Regions from separate parts of the Homo sapiens genome. Here region 2 is linked to region 1. Evidence: promoter capture Hi-C in human tissues and cell types (Jung and others, 2019). All regions are on one chromosome and are shown on one strand. Each heading gives the region's core, a stretch centred on a gene start or on the middle of the fragment in contact. The rest is flanking DNA. Distances are from core to core; before and after follow the strand shown. Region 1 holds the start of FST (follistatin). Region 2 overlaps LINC02105 (long intergenic non-protein coding RNA 2105).

Region 1 (5,806 bases), core at 1,967-4,466:
TACTATTATCAGGCTCTTACTGCGGACTACACCATCCCCCAAGGGTCTTCTAGAGGGTCTACTTTAGGTACAAAGCTGGAGGAGGGGACAGATCCAGTCTTGCTCAACAGGGTAGGACCTACTTTTACATCTGCCTTGGTACTGGACTTCCAGTTCTGGCTGCTCTTTACATCTTGCCTTTAGGAGTGCACATTCATTGCGGTAGGTTTTCCCATCCAGCCCGCAGACTGGACCCTTCCAGGTGATGTTGGAACAATCCGGGGCGCAGACGCAGCGGGGTTTGTTCTTCTTGTTCATTCGGCATTTTTTCCCAGGTCCACAGTCCACGTTCTCACACGTTTCTGTGAGTTAGAAACAGGCATGGATTAAAACCAGAGCCAGGCAGTCTGCAGGTCAGCCAGGAGGGCTTCGGGTGCCTTGCGCAATCATGCAGCCCTGAGTTTGCGCTGGAGGGGCCCCAGGCTCTCTCCTGGAATATTGGGAGTTGGTGAAAGAGTGTGGACCTTGGGCTGTGCCCCACACCCAGATCTCTCTCATTAAGGAGCACAGGTTGGTGGGTTTCACCACCACACTTGGCTAAGAAGTCTGGCGTGTATTCCCTACAGCCTGTAACAGGCAGAATTAGAGTCTGCACGGCTTACCAGGGCAAGGGACAGGAAGGGGAAGCCCAGGAACAAAGCTCTCCTACTCCCAAACCCCAGTCAGGTAGTGGGGAAGCTAAGGGTAAGACGCCCTCTACTGAGGGCCTGCAAGTTGGGAAGAAGGAGTCCTACCTTTACAGGGGATGCAGTTGGGGGCGCCCCCGTTGAAAATCATCCACTTGAAGAGTGTGTTGTCATTCACGTCCTCCTCGGTCCACGAGGTGCTCAGCCGGCCGGTGCTGCAGCACTCCTCCTTGCTCAGTTCGGTCTTGTACAGGACCTGGCAGCGGCCGTTCTTCGCTTGACGGAGCCAGCAGTTCCCAGCTGTGAAGAGACAAGGGTGGGGAGGTGGGTGAGTGAGCAGTGAGCGGTGGCAGGGCAGGGAGAGCGAGGTGGCTAGCGAAGGAGACCCGGCGGGGATGGGGAGGGGGTGAGCGTGGAGGAGGGGAAGTGAGAGAGACGCGGGAGAAAAGTAGGAAATAAATCGAAAGGGGTGGAGGGGTGGAAAAAGAAGGCAGTGGAGGGGGAAGCCCTGATCACAGAGATGGGAGGTGGGCGAGAGGGAGGGAGGGAGAGAGGGAGAAGACAGGGCGCCCCAGCCATATCAATGTCAGTTACCAGTGACCCAGACACAACACGTGCAGCTTGCATTGACTTTTACTAGACTGTTTACTTTTATTCGTCCCATTTCATAACCTGCAGAGACTCGAAGAGCAGATTAAAGAACCTGACAAAAACAGGATGCGACGGATGTTTTTACATGCTGGTTTCATGTAGGCGGGTACAGGAATTATTTGTGACAGGGGTTAAGAAAGTAAGAGAACGAGAGAGAGGAGAGAGGAGAGATGGAGGGGAGAGAGAGGGAGAAGGAAAGAGAAAGAAAGAAAGAAAAGAAAGAAGAGAAAGAAAGAAAAGAAAGAGAAAGAAAGAAAAAAAGGAAGAAAGAAAGAGAGAGAGGAAGAAAGAAAAGAAAGAGAGAGAGAGAGAAACAGATCAAGCAAAAGGCACTTCTGAAAAATGAAAGCAAAAAAGCAACCCGGCCCAGCCCGGAGCTACCCCGCGCGGCCTCCAGGCGCAGCCAGCCCGACGGGCCCGTTTTGCAATCCGCCAGACCGGAGCACGCCCGCGGCCACCGCGATCTTTCGAAATCTCCGAGGGCTGCTTTCCTCCGCGCCCACGTCCGGGCACCAGGCAGAGCCTCTCCTCTAAAGGCGGGCAACCCAGCGCAGTGCCATGCAGACGGCGAGGGGCAGTGCCCAGGAGGGCAGTTTACAACATACTTAAAATGTTAACGCTGAAGCAGGGAAAGTAATGCCTTAAGGTGGGGGGAGGGGGGAGTCTTCCTACCATTTCACGGTTATAAGTACCTATCTCATACCTAGCAAGAAATATTTGCAAGTGATTTCTCCCTCTTCCCCCTTTTTAATGTTCGGATTTGGGTCGAGAAGACTTCTCATGAATCACCAATATGACTTTAACAATCATTGGATCGCAAGCTGCTATTATTATTTTAAACATTCTGCCCAAAGACTAATTGAAATAAACAAATCTATTTTTAAAAGGCAAGCTTCAGAAATTTGCTCTTAACCCATTTCAGAATTTAAGTCAGTTATGGGCTGCTCACTGTTTTACAGAAAGCTAAGGGTCAGAAAGAAGAATGAGGCAGAGGGGAAAAAAACTGTAAAGTGCTCAAAGCACTTTGGGGTAATAATTTGGCTTTTTTTTTTTTTTTTTTTTTTTTGCGAGAATGGGGGATGGGGTTGGAAGAAGCATCCACTAGGCAGAAAGCTACTTCCCTTGAAAATCTTCAGCACCCACATTTCCAAGTTTGGGCAAAGTTTCTGAAACCACGTCCCCCAGCCACCAAATAAAATTCAGTATCTCTCCCCCAAACCCCCAGGTTTTCTTTTCTTTCTTTCCTTTTTTTTTTTTAAGTATCCAAAAGATGTGGGAGGGAGAGAGATGAGACTGCAAATGGGTCGACTGAAATCTCCAGGCTACTACTGATACTTGTTCCCTTCTTCAGAGCCAAACAGAGGAGATCACATCTAAAGTTATCATGGCCAGAACTTGGAGCATTTAACCCTAACTACTAAGACCCCAGCTCGCTCCCTTTCCTTTTTCAAGATAACCGAGCTCCAAACTCAGTTCCCAGTCCTAAAGTGTCATTGCCTACAATTTTCCCACTCCTCTCCATCCCGGAGTCCCCAAGTTGGTTCAACATCTTCCGAGAGCAGCGTTGCTCAGAACAGACCAAGTGGAGACCACAGAAAAGTCGACCCCCCTGTCCTCAGCCAAGCCTCCCCAGCGCATCCCCACTCGCTTACCCTGGGCACTGCGGTCCTCCATGAACTGGCAGAGCAGCAGCAGCAGGAGGCAAAGCCCACCCGGCTGGTGCCTCGCGCGGACCATCCTGGGGGCAGGCGCGGGGCGAGGAGCGCAGCGGCGCGGGGAGCCGGCGCGGCGGCGGGTGGCTCGGGCGAGCGGCGCGCGTCGCAGAGGCCAGCGGCGGAGGGCGCAGCGATCCCGGCGCAGCCCCGCGCTCGCCGCCGGCCGCCCGCGCGATTCAATGGACGTCAGAAGCCGGGCGCAGCCGCGCTTTAAATCTAGACGGGGGTCTCCGCGGTTTGCGGTGGGCGGTCTCCCAGTGTGTGGGGCTGTGGGAGGGCGGCCGCGAGCGAGGGTGTGCGCGGCTCCTTGGGGGTGGGGAGCTTTCAAAAGTTCAGTGTGAATCAGGTGACATTTCCCACCTTCTGGAAACCCTTCCCAATTATCTTTCGGAGGTGCCCGAAATCAAAACGGCTGGAAGGGAATCGTCGAGTTCTTATTTGCGTAGGAGCGAGAGGGAGGGGGAAGGCGACCGGGGCGGGGGTTGGGGGCTACGCGTCGGGGGTGGGGAGTGGGGAAGAACACCCACTTCAAGTCCTGCTCGCCGCCGCTCGCCGGCAGCGCCGGCGCGCCCGGGGTGGCGGGTGTGTGTGTGAGTGTGTGTGTGAGTGTGTGTGCGCGCGCGCGCGAGTGTGAGAGGGAGGGCGCGGTGGGGGCGCTGGAGGCGGTGGCGGGGGGAACCCGGGAGTTTGTCTCCGTGCTGCCTCTCCTCCGCTCCAAAGAGACTTTTGCAAACGGCCGAAGAGCCCCGGGCTGCCCAAATATCCCGCCCCGGGTCGGGTCGGAGCGCGCCGGCCTCGCGGCGGTTCCGGGCACCCGCAGCCTGGGCGCGGGACCCGCGAGGTTTTGTGTCTGGGTCTGTGAGTGCCTGACTTTGCAGCCACCCCCAGCCCAGAGGTGTTGCTAGGAACCCCGGCCCCGGCACCTTCCACCCTGGCAGAGCGCTACCGAGACGCGGCCCTTCGTCTGGACTAGTCGGAAGCAAACAAAAATGTTTAACACCTCAGGCCCGGTCTCCCCGCGGCACAGCCTCGCCCTCTCCCTTTCTTTTCTCCCCTTTCACTTCGCGGCGTCTGGAGTCGGAGCCCGGAGCGGGGGCGCCGACGTAGGCGGTCTGGCCCCCCCTTCCTCTCCCGCCTGGAGACTCCCCAGTTTCTGTCCTGTGTGCCTCTGTCTGTCTCTCAGTCTCCTCGGCTCCAATCTCTCTCTCTTTCTGTCTCGTCTTCTCTCTTTTCGCGGAATAAAAAAGATTGCAACATCCATAATGAACTTCTGTAGCCTCAGTTTATTAAGTACAGTGCCTGGCATTCTTCGCTGAAAGTTGGCGGGTCTCTCATTTATAACATTTTTGGCACCGCTGAATGAAACTGAGGAGGCGATATTTCCTTTTATATAAAACGATTACTTCACGGAAAATGCTATATTGTTTATTCCAAAGCTGCCTTTTAAATTTGTTCTTTTCGCATCTGAAGCCCGAAGGACAACAGATAGCGAAGTATGCAGACAAAATTCTTGGACATTCGCAGGTCACTGGGATTTGTTCTACGAATTTCAAATCTGCCCTTCTTCCCCCCCTGCAACTGCCCTCCCCCCGCCAGACCCTCCCCCAGTCCTCCTCTAGCCCTCCCACCCCCCATCTTCCGTCAACCTTCCCCCCTCCACAACTGCAAATAACTCAGTGATAACAGATTTTTTTCCACCAACTGCAGGAGATAGTGCTAATCTTTTAATAAAAGATCCCATTACAATGGGATCTGTCTGGACAGACTATAATAGATCCCGAAATACAGCCGTGCTAATATTAGAAGACAGTTGTTTGGGTGCCTCTCAGACGGGCCCAAGCCCCCCTTTGAAAGTGGGCATGAATCACAAAGCCCCGCGGCCGCCGCACCTGCACCGCGCGCATTCGGTGCAGCAGGCTGGTAAAAGCGGGTGACCTCGCCGCCGCTTTTCGCTTTATAATTACCGTCATGAGGACGGGAGGGGAGGGGCTCGGGCGGCCCGGGGGAGACTGGATTTTGCTCACTTCAGACGGCTGTGGGGGCTCCACATCCTTCTTAATCTTTCCAGAATCATTCTGTCTGTTTCTGTCTCGCTGTCTCTCTCCCCTTCTCCCTTTCCCTCCAGTCCTCCAACTCATTCCCTCTGCTCTCTTTCCCCTACTCCTTCCCCTCTTCTCTCCTTCCCTCCCTCTACCCAGACTCTACCCGTACTCTCCCTCCCTTTTCTCCCTCTCTTTCTTTTCCAGTCTCCTTTTCTCTCTTCCCTCCAACTCATTAATGTAGAGTTGTTTAGTGCCCTCTAATGGCAGACGACATTAACAATTAATAGCAAACTGTCCCCTTTGCAGGAGCCGCCACTCAATGGCAGAGTTCCAAAGCTGAATTTATTTCTTCTTTATTCAGAGAAATGGTATAGTCCTTATACAATGATGTGCTGGAGGGAAAGTTTGTTTTCTCTGCTTAAAGGTTCCCCCACCCCTGCCCAGGGATAAGTTAAAGGAAAGAGAAGCTAACAAGTATTGTTACTTGACTTTTCCCCCTACCCTGTCTTTTAATGGCAGCAAGAGACACAGCTTCTTTTTAAGGTAGAGGTATCAAACCGTATATCCAAGGTTGAAAAATAAACATTCCAAATGCATAAAAGATCTCAGATGGTAAGTAACTGGATCTTACAGCAATGCTATCAATGATCATACATAATTACATGATTTTATATTTGTCTCCAGTTTAAATATATTTATTGGTCCTGAATTGGCCAGTAGCCTCTGGAAACTG
Region 2 (6,432 bases), core at 2,644-5,143, 320 kb before region 1:
TTCTTTGTCTCTTTTGATCTTTGTTGGTTTAAAGTCTGTTTTATCAGAGACTAGGATTGGAACCCCTCCCTTTTTTTGTTTTCCGTTTGCTTGGTAGATCTTCCTCCATCCCTTTATTTTGAGCCTATATGTGTCTCTGCACGTGAGATGGGTTTCCTGAATACAGCACACTCATGGGTCTTGACTCTTTATCCAATCTGCCAGTCTGTGTCTTTTAATTGGAGCATTTAGCCCATTTACATTTAAGGTTAATATTGTTATGTGTAAATTTGATCCTGTCATTTTGATGTTAGCTGGTGATTTTGCTCGTTAGTTGATGCAGTTTCTTCCTAGCCTTGATGGTCTTTACAATTTGTCATGTTTTTGCAGTGGCAGGTACCAGTTGTTCCTTTCCATGTTTAGTGCTTCCTTTGGGAGCTCTTTTAGGGCAGGCCTGGTGGTGACAAAATCTCTCAGCATTTGCTTGTCTGTAAAGGAATTTATTTCTCTTTCACTTATGAAGCTTAGTTTGGCTGGATATGAAATTCTGGGTTAAAAATTCTTTTCTTTAAGAATGTTGAATATTGGCCCCCACTCTCTTCTGGCTGGTAGAGTTTCTGCCGAGAGATAAGCTGTTAGTCTGATGGGCTTCCCTTTGTGGGTAACCCCACGTTTCTCTCTGGCTGCCCTTAACATTTTTTCCGTCATTTCAACTTTGGTGAATCTGACAATTATGTGTCTTGGAGTTGCTCTTCTCGAGAAGTATCTTAGTGGCGTTCTCTGTATTTCCTGAATTTGAATGTTGGCCTGCCTTGCTAGATTGGGGAAGTTCTCTTGGATAATATCCTGCAGAGTGTTTTCCAACTTGGTTCCATTCTCCCCGTCACTTTCAGGTACACCAATCAGACGTAGATTTGGTCTTTTCACTTAGTCTCATATTTCTTGGAGGCTTTGTTCATTTCTTTTTATACTTTTTTCTCTAAACTTCTCTTCTCACTTAATTTCATTCATTTCGTCTTCCATCGCTGATACCCTTTCTTCCAGTTGATTGCATTGGCTCCTGAGGCTTGTGCATTCGTCATGTAGTTCTCGTGCTGTGGTTTTCAGCTCCATCAGTTCCTTTAAGGACTTCTCTGCATTGATTATTCTAATTATCCATTCGTGTAATTTTTTTTCAAGGTTTTTAACTTCTTTGCCATTGGTTCAAACTTCCTCCTTTAACTCGGAGTAGTTTGATCTTCTGAAGCCTTCTTCTCTCAACTCGTCAAAGTCATTCTCCATCCAGCTTTTTTCCATTGCTGGTGAGGAGCTGCGTTCCTTTGGAGGAGGAGAGGCGCTCTGATTTTTAGAGTGTCTGGTTTTTCTGCTCTGTTTTTTCCCCATCTTTGTGGTTTTACCTACCTTTGGTCTTTGATGATGGTGATGTACAGATGGGTTTTTGGTGTGGATGTCCTTTCTGTTTGTTAGTTTTCCTTCTAACAGTCAGGACCCTCAGCTGCAGGTCTGTTGGAGTTTGCTGGAGGTCCACTCCAGACCCTGTTTGCCTGGGTATCAGCAGCGGAGGCTGCAGAAAAGCGGATATTGGTGAACCGCAAATGCTGTTGCCTGATCGTTTCTGTGGAAGTTTTGTCTCAGAGGAGTACCCAGCCATGTGAGGTGTCAGTCCGCCCCTACTGGGGGATGCCTCCCAGTTAGGCTACTTGGGGGTCGGGGACCCACTTGAGGAGGCAGTCTGCCCATTCTCAGATCTCAAGCTGCGTGCTGGGAGAACCACTACTCTCTACAAAGCTGTCAGACAGGGACATTTGAGTCTGCAGAGGTTACTGCTGCCTTTTGTTTGTCTGTTCCCTGCCCCCAGAGGTGGAGCCTACAGAGGCAGGCAGGCCTCCTTGAGCTGTGGCAGGCTCCACCCAGTTCGAGCTTCCTGGCTGTTTTGTTTACCTACTCAAGCCTTGGCAATGGCGGGCGCCCCTCCCCTAGCCTCACTGCTGCCTTGCAGTTTGATCTCAGACTGCTGTGCTAGCAATGAGCGAGGCTCCGTGGCCGTAGGACCCTCTGAGCCAGGTGTGGGATATAATCTCCTGGTGTGCTGTTTGTTAAGCCCATCGGAAAAGCGCAGTATTAGGGTAGGAGTGACCCAATTTTCCAGGTGCCATCTGTCACCCCTTTCTTTGACTAGGAAAGGGAATTCCCTGACCCCTTATGCTTCCCGGGTGAGGTGATGCCTCACCCTGCTTCAGCTCATGCATGGTGTGCTGCACCCACTGTCTGGCACTCCCCAGTGAGAAGAACCTGGTACCTCAGTTGGAAATGCAGAAATCACCCATCTTCTGCGTCACTCATGCTGGGAGCTGTAGACTGGAGCTGTTCCTATTCAGCCATCTTGGCTCCCTGTTTTTTTCTTTATTAGTCTTGCTAGCGGTCTATCAATTTTATTGATGGGGGTCTGTTGTGGGGTGGGGGGAGCGGGGAGGCCTAGCATTAGGAGATATACCTAATGCTAAATGATGAGTTAATGGGTGCAGCACAGCAGCATGGCACAGGTATACATACGTAACTAACCTGCACATTGTGCACGTGTACCCTAAAACTTAAAGTATAATAATAATAAAATAAAAAAATAATAATAATTTAAAATCCAAAAAAAAAATTTTTTATTGATGTCTTCAAAAAACCAACTGCTGGATTCATTGATTTTTTTGGAGGGCTTTTGTGTCTCTATTTCCTTCAGTCCTGCTCTGATCTTAGTTATTGCTTGCTTTCTGCTAGCTTTTGAATTTGTTTGCTTCTGCTTCTCTAGTTCTTTTAATTGTGATGTGAGGGTGTCGATTTTAGATCTTTCCTGCTTTCTCTTGTGGGCATTTAGTGCTATAAATTTCCCTCTACACACTGCTTTAAATGTGTCCGAGAGATTCTGGTATGTTGTGTCTTTTTTCTCATTGGTTTCAAAGAACATCTTTATTTCTGCCTTCATTTCGTTATGTACCCAGTAGTCATTCAGGAGCAGGTTGTTCAGTTTCCACGTAGTTGTTTGGTTTTGAGTGAGTTTCTTAATCCTGAGTTCTAATTTGATTGTACTGTGATCTGAGAGACAGTTTGTGGTGGTTTCTGTTCTTTTACATTTGCTGAGGAGTGCTTTACTTCAACTACGTGGTCAATTTTGGAATAAGTGTGATGTGATGCTGAGAAGAATGGATATTCTGTTGATTTGGGGTGGAGAGTTCTGTAGATGACTATTAGGTCTGCTTGGTGCGGAGCTTAGTTCAAGTCCTGGATATCCTTGTTAACCTTCTGTCTCATTGATCTGTCTAATATTGACAGTGGGGTGTTAAAGTCTCCGGCTCTAAGGACTTGCTTTATGAATCTGGGTGCTCCTGTATTGGGTGCATATATATTTAGGATAGTTAGCTCTTCTCGTTGAATTGATCCCTTTACCATTATGTAATGGCCTTCTTTGTGTCTTTTGATCTTTGTTGGTTTAAAGTTTGTTTTATCAGAGACTAGGATTGCAACCCCTCCTTTTTTTTTGCTTTCCATTTGCTTGGTAGATCTTCCTCCATCCCTTTATTTTGAGCCTATGTGTGTCTCTGCACGTGAGATGGGTTTCCTGAATACAGCACACTGATAGGACTTGACTCTATCCAATTTGCCCATCTGTGTCTTTTAATTGGGGCATTTAGCCCATTTACATTTAAGGTTAATATTGTTATGTGTGAATTTGATCCTGCCATTATGATGTTAGCTGGTTATTTTGCCCATTACTTTATGCAGTTTCTTCCTAGCCTCAATGGTCTTTACAATTTGGTATGTTTTTGCAGTGGCTGGTACCAGTTGTTCCTTTCCATGTTTAGTGCTTCCTTTGGGAGCTTTTGTAAGGCAGGCCTGGTAGTGACAAAATCTCTCAGCATTTGCTTGTCTGTAAAGGATTTTATTTCTCCTTCACTTATGAAGCTTAGTTTGGCTGGATATGAAATTCTGGGTTGAAAATTCTTTTCTTTAAGAATGTTGAATATTGGCCTCCACTCTTTTCGGGCTTGTAGAGCTTCTGCCGAGAGACCCACTGTTAGTCTGATGGGCTTCCCTTTGTGGGTAACGAAACCTTTCTCTTTGGCTGCCCTTAACATTTTTTCCTTCATTTCAACCTTGGTGAATATGACAATTATGTGTCGTGGAGTTGCTCTTCTGAAGTATCTTAGTGGTGTTCTCTGTATTTGTTGAATTTGAATGTTGACCTGCCTTGCTAGGTTGGGGAAGTTCTCCTGGATAATATCCTGCAGAGTGTTTTCCAACTTGGTTCCATTCTCCCTGTCACTTTCAGATACACCAATCAAACATAGATTTGGTCTTTTCACATAGTCCCATATTTCTTGGAGGCTTTATTTATTTTTACTCTTTTTTTCTAAACTTCTCACTTTATTTCATTAATTTGATCTTCAGTCACTGATACCCTTTCTTCCCCTTGATTGAATCAGCTATTGAAGCTTATGCATGTGTCATGTAGTTCTCGTGCCATGGTTTTCAGCTCCATCCGGTCATTTAAGGTCTTCCCTACACTGTTCGTTCTAGTTAGCCATTCATCTAATCTTTTTTCAAGGTTTTTAGCTTCCTTGCGACGGGTTCGAACATCCTCTTTTAGCTCAGAGAAGTTTGTTATTACTGACCTTCTGAAGCCTACTTCTGTCAACTCATGAAAGTTTTCTCCATCCAGGGTTGTTCCATTGCTGGCAAGGAGCTGCTATCCTTTGGAGGAAAAGAGGCACTCTGGTTTTTAGGATTTTCAGCTTTTCTGCTGTGGTTTCTCCCCATCTTTGTGGTTTAATCTACCTTTGGTCTTTGATGATGGTGACCTACAGATGGGGTTTTGGTGTGGATGTCGTTTTTGTTGATGTTGTTGCTATTCCTTTATGTTTGTTAGTTTTCCTTCTAACAGTCAGGTCCCTCAGCTGCAGTTCTGTTGGAGTTTGCTGGAGGTGCCCTCCAGACCCTGTTTGCCTGGGTATCACCAGCAGAGGCTGCAGAACAGCAAATGTTGCTGCCTGATCCTTCCTCTGGAAGCTTTGTCTCAGAGGGGCACCCGGCTGTATGATGTGTCAGTTTGCCCCTACTGGGAGGTGTCTCCCACTTAGGCTACACGGGAGTCAGGGACCCAGTTGAGGAGACAGTCTGTCTGTTCTCAGAGCTCCAACACGGTGCTGGGAGAACCACTGCTCTCTTCAGAGCTGTCAAACAGGGACATTTAAGTCTGCAGAAGTTTCTGCTGCCTTTTGTTCAACTATGCCCTGCCCCCAGAGGTGGAGTCTATAGAGGCAGCAAGCCTTGTGGTGCTGTGGTTGGCTCCGCCCAGTTCGAGCTTCCAGGCCACTTTGTTTACCTACTCAAGCCTCAGCAATGGCAGACGCCCCTCCCCCTGCTGGGCCGCTGCCTTGCAGGTTGATCTCACTGCTGAGCTAGCAGTGAACAAGGCTTCATGGGCGTGGGACCTGCCAAGCCATGCGGGGGATATAATCTCCTGGTGTGCTGTTTGCTAAGAACGTTGGAAAAGCGCAGTATTTGAGCAGGAGTGTCCCGTTTTTCTAGGTGCTGTCTGTCACAGCTTCCCTTGGCTAGGAAAGGGAAACCCCATGACCCCTTGTGCTTCCAGGGTAAAGTGACGCCCCGCCCTGCTTCAGCTTGCCCTCCGTGGGCTGTATCCGCTTTACAACCAGTCTCAATGAGATGAACCAGGTACTTCAGTTGGAAATGCAGAAATCACCCATCTTCTGCATCAATCATGCTGGGAGCTGCAGACCAGAGCTGTTCCTATTCAGCCATCTTGGAATGGACACCTCAAATTACTTTTAACCATAGTGACAATAACAAAATTCTTCCGTGTCTGCTTAATCTAATATACCCACAGAACCCCAAAATGTCTACTAAATAAGGGGTCATGGTGTCTGCACCTTGCTTCTTATAGGTTTTGAGGTGTTGAGATTGAATTCATTCTTTATATGTTACCATTGCCTTACAAGGAAAATTGGTGCAATGCCTTTTATTGCATGTTCCACTGCTTATACTGTGCTTTTTTATACACAGCATTGCTCATTCCCTCCTAGAACTCTGCCCTCTTCCCTTCAGCCCATTACCAAGCTTGTTTCTTGCCTTCCTTGAGGGCTTTCTTATATAGATATTATTCCTAAGAAATACTGTCAATGCTTTCCTGGAGAGCAGAGGCTTGAAGCAAACTCATAGTGTAGAACAAGGCAGACACTGCTGGTCTTGTCTGCTGACAAGAAGAACCACAGATCCAGGGATTGAAACAAGATGTATGCACCCTCCGGGCCCTGGTCAGCTAAGGAGGACAGCTAAGAGACTAACTTCTGTCTCTCTGCTGGTGGCAAGCTAGCCATACTGAGTGGGCAACCAGAAGCCCAAACCATCTGGACAGTCTTGGACTCCCAGACTGGTTGGCTGTAG

Evidence for each region. The method cuts DNA at HindIII sites, captures the fragments that hold promoters and counts their contacts. A contact is called where the count stands out against the background at its distance.
Region 2: a fragment that was not itself captured here is called in contact with the fragment with the promoter of FST in region 1 in 2 of the 25 tissues and cell types used here (H1 embryonic stem cells and pancreas).

Annotation. Positions count from the first base shown.
Region 1 is chr5:53,478,039-53,483,844 of GRCh38, reverse strand. It overlaps FST (follistatin), which reads right to left and starts at 3,216. Exons shown (of 6, transcript NM_013409.3): 1 at 2,969-3,216; 2 at 774-965; 3 at 123-341. The coding sequence starts at 3,053. RefSeq lists an enhancer at 1,914-1,983. The HindIII fragment of the contact is 11,038 bases long and covers 1-5,806 here.
Region 2 is chr5:53,798,744-53,805,175 of GRCh38, reverse strand. The region is part of intron 1 of LINC02105 (long intergenic non-protein coding RNA 2105); the gene reads left to right. Among named protein-coding and RNA genes, the nearest start is that of LINC02105, 18 kb to the left of the region's middle. RefSeq lists a silencer at 5,271-5,471. The HindIII fragment of the contact is 3,354 bases long and covers 2,217-5,570 here.